Linked DNA regions of Homo sapiens: region 2 is linked to region 1. Evidence: promoter capture Hi-C in human tissues and cell types (Jung and others, 2019). All regions are on one chromosome and are shown on one strand. The core of a region is centred on a gene start or on the middle of the fragment in contact, and the rest is flanking DNA. Distances in the headings are between cores, read along the strand shown. Region 1 holds the start of OR10G3 (olfactory receptor family 10 subfamily G member 3). Region 2 has its middle 10 kb from the start of OR10G2.

Region 1 (3,362 bases), core at 380-2,879:
AATAAAGACCATCTAGTACATGAATGTTTGAAAAATATATGAGAAATATTAGGGGACCACAAACTAAATAAAAGTGTATAATTTTGAGCAACCAAGGAGATTAGACATCTTTTCTAATGAGGCGAAGGGCACAGGCTTAACCTCATTTCAGCAAATGAATTTTACTTAATTCTGGTCCCAAACTGTATCCCTAACCCATCTTTCAAATGGCCATGAAGAAAACTTTAAAAATTTTATTATTTTCTGAAAATCGACTCAAAGCACACTTTTTTATTTATAAAAAGCATTTCAAATATTTGGAAAACTAATATAATTAATTTCTTTTTAAAATAAATTTCACAATAAGACATATAAAATGGAAAATAATTTAAAGATGAATAACAATGGAACAAATATATACATATATAATATGAGAAAAGTTTGAGTTATTAAATTGAGAGACATGAGACAATTTCTATTAAAATGTAAAACCCTTATTAGCAATGAGTTAGAATTGTCTGTTTAAAATATTTGCCAACAAAGAAATCAGGTTATAGCTTTACTCATGTCCATTTTTCAAATTTTGGGCAGAGAACTTGTCTTATAGGTGGAAGGGACCTGGTGAGGACAAAAAGAACAGAGCAAGGGTGGCACCACCACAGAACTCGAAGATGCTCTTCCTAGTCTGGTTGGTATTAAAACCAGTGAATGGACTTTTAATGGAGAATAGCTTTGGAGAAAAATTTAGCCAATTAAAGGCCTGGGGGAAATAGTGTTATCCAATATTAGCCACTATTTTTTAATTTTTTAATTTTTTTAATTTTAATTTTTATTTTTGAGATGGAGTCTCTCTCTGTTGCCCAGGCTGGAATGCAGTTGTGCCATCTTGGCTCACTGCAACCTCCATCTCTCAGGTTCAAGTGATTCTCCTGCCTCAGCCTCCCAAGTAGCTGGGATTACAGGCGTGTACCACCACCCCCAGCTAATTTTTGTATTTTTAGTAGAGATGGGGTTTTACCATGTTGGTTAGGCTGGTCTTGAACTCCTGACCTCAGGTGATCCGCCCGTCTTGGCATCCCAAAGTGCTGGGATTACAGGTGTGAGCCAACATGCTTGGCCTATTAGCCACTATTTATAAAAAGGCTAAATGGTAGTTACATAGTCATATGAGCAGAACAGCAAAGAAAATTTTTGTGACAGCAGAAAAAGAACTATACTGAGTAACTAAACAAGTAAGAATATTGAGAGATGAAGTGACTCAGAGTAGAGAAACCCCTTACACAATGTTTGGACTTAACATTTATCTCTGAAAAATGGGATTAGAACAGTGGCAGGTGCTATTTTGAGAAGAGGAACTCACCTGAAGGTGTCAGCATCCATCAAAAACTCTTCTTGCAGACGGAGAGAAAGGATACAAATCTATTCCTAAGGAATCTTGAATATCTCATAGGTCAGCAGCAATTATTGTGAAGAGCTCGTGGCAGAAGACCCAACTAATTACTTTTGGCTGGATCAAAGTAAAGAGTCAAACTATGGAAACTTAATTTATTATTTGCCTGCTTATTTGTAGAGATATCTGCTTCCAGCTTCCTTATGAACTGGGGGAGGAGCTGTGGCTCTTACTGAAGATAACTGTTAAGGTTGGTCTCTCCTGTGTTCTACTACTTCTTCTATTTCCCTCAGAGTCAGTTTTTATGTGTGAGACCTTTAGCTTGGGGAATATTGTAATAGCACTCCTGTGATAGGCAAGACCAATATCCATAGTTTGTTTCCTAGGAGACTCTCTGGGTTTCTAGCTTTTTCCAATTTTGTAACAGCAGGTGCGACAAAGTCTGTGGGGCTTAACAGGTCTCGTTGAAATCTTCAGATCTGTGGTTTTCTTTCTGTTCCAAAGCAAATTTGGAAAAAAAGAGAAGAAAAAGCTAACATGGTTGTTACTTGGCAAGAGATGTGTTCTTATTGGTGCATTCACATTTTAAGAAATTCACACTTTGAATTACTAAGGTGCTAACATAGACCTTCACAGACTAGAAGAAACAGAATTTCAGGGTTGGAGGGACATTAGAGGTCATCTGATCCAACTATCATCTGTAATGTTTTAAGTCAAGCTCCCTGAACAGTGATTTTTCTTTTTTAATTTTACAATTTTATTTATTTATTTATTTTTTGAGACAGGGTCTTGCTCTGTCGCTCAGGCTGGAGTGCAGCGACGTGATCACGGCTCACTGCAGCCTCATCCTCCTAGGCTCAAGCGATTCTTCCACCTCAGCCTCCCAAGTGGCTGGGACTACAGGCACATACCACCACACCTGACTAATTTTTAAATTTTTCGTAGAGACGAGGTCTCACTAGATTGCTCAGGCTGGTCTTGAACTCCTGGGCTCAAGTGATCCTCCTCCCTCTACCTCCCAAAATGCTGGGACTACAGGTGCAAGCCACTGCCCCCGGCCTGTTATTTTTCTTAGTATTTCTTGGTCTTGTTTCCTTGAATACTTTGAATTTGGTCTAACTTATTTTCTTCTAGACTTAAATTTGGTGTTGTCGCAACATTTTTCCCAACTGTCTTCAAATGTCCAGAGATGGTCTGTGTTGTAAAAGAACATCTTGAATATGGTTTAGTTTTATTATTTTTTCCACCAAACTTTTGTGGAGGTCTCTGTAGCTTCCAAGCCACAATTGTGTTAAAGTGTCTAAAGCAGAGGAAAGCACACTTTCTCTCTAAAGAGGCAGATAATAAATGTTTTTGGCCTTGAGGACCATACAGTCTCTGTTGCAGCTACTCAACTCTGCCATTGTATGGGAAAGCAGCCATAAAATACACATACAAATGGGCATGGGTTTTTTTTTTTTTTGAAACGGAGTCTCACTCTGTTGCCCAGGCTGGAGTGCAGTGGTGTGATCACGGCTCACTACAACCTTTGCCTCCGGAGTTCAAGTGATTCTCCTGCCTCAGCCTCACGAGTAGTTGGGATCACAGGCACCTACCACCATGCCCAGCTAATTTTTGTACTTTTAGTAGAAACAGGGTTTTACCATGTTGGCCAGGCTGGACTAGAACTCCTGACCCCAGGCAATCTGCCCGCCTCAGCCTCCCAAAGTGCTGGGATTACAGGAGTGAGCCACCTAGCCCAACCCCGGCATGGTTTTATTTATTTACTTAATTATATACTTTACTTATAGATACTATAATTTGAATGTCATAATTTTCATGTATCATGAAATATTATTTTCATTTTGCTTTTTTCAACAACTTAAGAAATGTAAGTTCTAGCAGGGTGCAGTGGCTCATGCCTGTAATCCCAGCACTTTGGGAGGCGAAGGTGGAGCCCAGGAGTTCAAGAACAGCATAGTGAATATAGTGAGACCCTTTCTCTACCAAAAAA
Region 2 (3,362 bases), core at 558-3,057, 45 kb after region 1:
TGTTGATATTATTTAGCATTTTTTGGTGGATTTATCCAACATATTGGAGAGTGTGGGGGCTGTGGACTTAGAGGGTGAAGAGAAGATCATGGAGAGCTCTTCTCTGTGAAACAGAAGAGTGAGGTCATGCGATGAGGTGGGGGTCAAGTGTGGAAGGAATTGGTCAGTAGGGAATTCCTGTAAAAGCACTGGATAATGGACAGAACAGTAATATAAAATATTCAGTTTAAAGATTTTCTTTTACTGAATTGTAATTTTTGTGTGCTATCCTAAATGTTTTTGAAGTTTGTTAAACATTACAGCCTACATAGTTTGTCCTTAGAGGGCAATGCAGAATTTCTTCCCCATAGGTGAATTATTTTTTGGCTTAGTACATTTATGTATGTATGTATGTATGTATGTATGTATGTATGTATGTATGTATGATGGAGTCTCGCTCTGTCACCCAGGCTGGAGTGCAGTGGCCCAATCTCGGCTCACTGCAAGCTCCGCCTCCTGGATTCACGCCATTCTCCTGCCTCAGCCTCCTGAGTAGCTGGGCCTACAGGCATCGGCCACCACGCCTGGCTAATTTTTTCTATTTTTAGTAGAAAGGGAGTTTTACCGTATTAGCCAGGATGGTCTTGGTCTCCTGACCTCATGATCCACCAGCCTCGGCCTCCCAAAGTGCTGGGATTACAGGCGTGAGCCACTGCGCCGACCTCTATTAGCTAATTTTTAATGACTTATTTTGGGGTAAACAGAATAAGAGGGACTTGGTGGTAGGGAGTAGAAAGGTAGAGTGGATGGTTTTCACTCAACAAATATTTTACTGAATACTTATATGTGCTAGGCACTCTTTCAATTGCTATGGTGCATCACTAAATAAAACATACCTGCACTGAGGTTGCTTATGTTCTTGTGAAGAGAGAGAGTAAGTAGATGTTTTAGCAGACTTTGAAAGCACAGGGAAAATACATTTGACCCTCAGAACTCAGCTTCATTTTCTTTAATAGGAAGAGAGCTGAGATGTATGTAAGCAATGCTGATGTCCTGTGCTTGTTATAATTTTATAATATAAATTAATCATCAGCTGAATAAGGGCTGTATAACATTGGATAGTTATAAGACTGCAAGTCAAGTTATCCAAAGAATCTCAGTCTTTCAAATTATTCAAATGTAGCTGTGTCTATAGTGGGACTCTATATAAAATCAGAAAGATACTGAACGTTTGAATGGAGAATCTAACACTGAGGCAAATGACCTTTAACATGTGAGTTATTTGTAAAAATGAAAAAAATTTCGAGTGCTTCATTGAAATCAAGAAGGAGATAAAGTCTAAAAAACTTTCAGCAAGGAGTGAATGGTCAATGGAAATGAACTATACAAAATCAATTATCTTAAATTTGAAGACGTGTAAGTTACTGATATTCTCCTTAATCAGTATGCTATCTTTTTATCTTTTTAATTTAGTGACCATGAAGAGTATCCGTAAGAACTTTTATAGGTTCATTTTGACCTTGTTTTCATATCTATTTTCTCCTAAAGTCTTAATTTTTTTTTTTGAGATGGAGTCTCACTCTGTCGCCTAGGCTGGAGTGCAGAGGTGCTATCTTGGCTCACTGCAACCTCTGCCTCCCAGGTTCAAGTGATTCTCATGCCTCAGCCTCCCAAGTAGCTGGGATTACAGGTATGCCACCATGCCTGGCTAACTTTTGTATTTTTAGTAGAGATGGGGTTTCACCATGTTGGCCAGGCTGATCTCGAACTCCTGACCTCAAGTGATCCACCCACCTTGGCCTCCCAAAGTGTTGGAACTATAGGCATGAGCCACCATGCCCAGCCAAGCCTTAAGTTTTTAGATAACATGTTTTTCTGCCACAGAGATTTTCAAGAAGAAAGAGTACCATTCTTTGTTACTTTCTCTCTCTGCTAGTAGAGTTTCTCTTTAACCCAGCAACTTCTTTCATTTCCACCTAGAAGGTGGTTGAATGCTAGATGTTGGAGCAAGCCATTACCAGAGGATAGGAGACAAGGTTTTTCGAATTATTGTAGATCAAACTGGGAACCCAGCTCTCTTGTCATGTTCAAAGAGCAGTAGCTGTGTTTGGACTTCGGAGTTAGATATTTCTAAGTTCAAATCCAAGCTTCACAGGGTGTTCAGATAAAATCTCACAGAATGAAAGAAACATAGGAAGGATTGGAAGGAATTTGACATGTATCAAATCTAACTATCTTCTACAATGTTTGAGTAAAGCTCTGATTTTTGAGCATCTCTTTGACCTTGTTTTCTTGAGTAGTTGGGGATGAGTCCAGCTTCAATGTCTCTTGCCTTGAGATCTTACCTTTGGAGCTTTTTATATCCCTCAGTTCGGGCAAGATAGAACATCCCATTGTCCAGTTATTTTCTAGTCCTGTGGTATCTGTGGAGTTTCCAGAGCCACACTGGTGCTCGGATGTCTGGAGCATGTTCTCACTGTGGAAATTAACCTCGCTTTAGTTCTAGTTCCTAAGGAAGATAACCAAGAGAACACAGGTGGAAGAAGCTTGCATCAAGAAGACTACACTCTATCTTGGAGGTGAACTGTTCACTATTACATACATAACTCAGGAAAACTTAGATACCTCTCTTGTTTCTTTTGGCTTAATGGTGGTAAATAATTTAGGTGTTACTGAGCCCTAGGTTATTCAATTGTTTCTTGTGGTTTCTCTACTCCCATATCTTTGTACATAGTTCCTATGCAGAGAAAACTCTCCGCAAATTATCATGTTTTGAGTAGGCTATCTATTGCTTTTTGGAAAATCAGCACCATCCATGTGCCTTAAGAGTGATTTGCACATGTACTCAGGGGTACAGGGAAGTGAAGGAGGTCAGTTGGAAGAAATACAAAAACCAAGATCTTCATTAAGAAGAGTTTAAAAATTTTGAAGGAATAGTTGGATCTTTTTCTAAGAAAAATCCTTAAGAGATTTGATAATATGAATTTGGATGGGAAATAAGGAGTGTGCTGTGTACCACTGGATTTAGGACATGAGCGCTGGAGGCCCAGAATGCACACATAACCCTTCTCAGGCAACCCTTGAGGCTGTGGTTTGGATACTGAACCAAGGGTAAAGGCACAGACAAAAGCTGACATTTTGAGGGATCAGTTTATGAGGTGGAGTAAAACTCTAAGCTGGACTCTGCCAGTACCCTTTTGAAACCCTGTCTTTTTTCCTAAATGAGGAATCTCAATTCCAGATAGAAAATGAGGACGAATGGCTCACGCCTGTAATCCCAGCACTTTGGGAGGCCGAGATGGGCAGATAACAAGGTCAGGAGTTTGAGACCAGCCTGGCCAATATGGTGAAACCCCGTTTCTACTAAAAACACAGAAATTAGC

The links. Contacts are between HindIII fragments. The study calls those that stand out against the background at their distance.
Region 2: a contact is called between a fragment that was not itself captured here and the fragment with the promoter of OR10G3 in region 1, in 2 of the 25 tissues and cell types used here (mesendoderm cells and thymus).

What each region holds. Positions count from the first base shown.
Region 1 is chr14:21,578,447-21,581,808 of GRCh38, forward strand. It overlaps OR10G3 (olfactory receptor family 10 subfamily G member 3), which reads right to left and starts at 1,630. Exons shown (of 2, transcript NM_001005465.2): 1 at 1,340-1,630. The HindIII fragment of the contact is 16,961 bases long and covers 1-1,836 here.
Region 2 is chr14:21,623,079-21,626,440 of GRCh38, forward strand. It overlaps TRA. Among named protein-coding and RNA genes, the nearest start is that of OR10G2, 10 kb to the right of the region's middle. The HindIII fragment of the contact is 5,146 bases long and covers 1-3,362 here.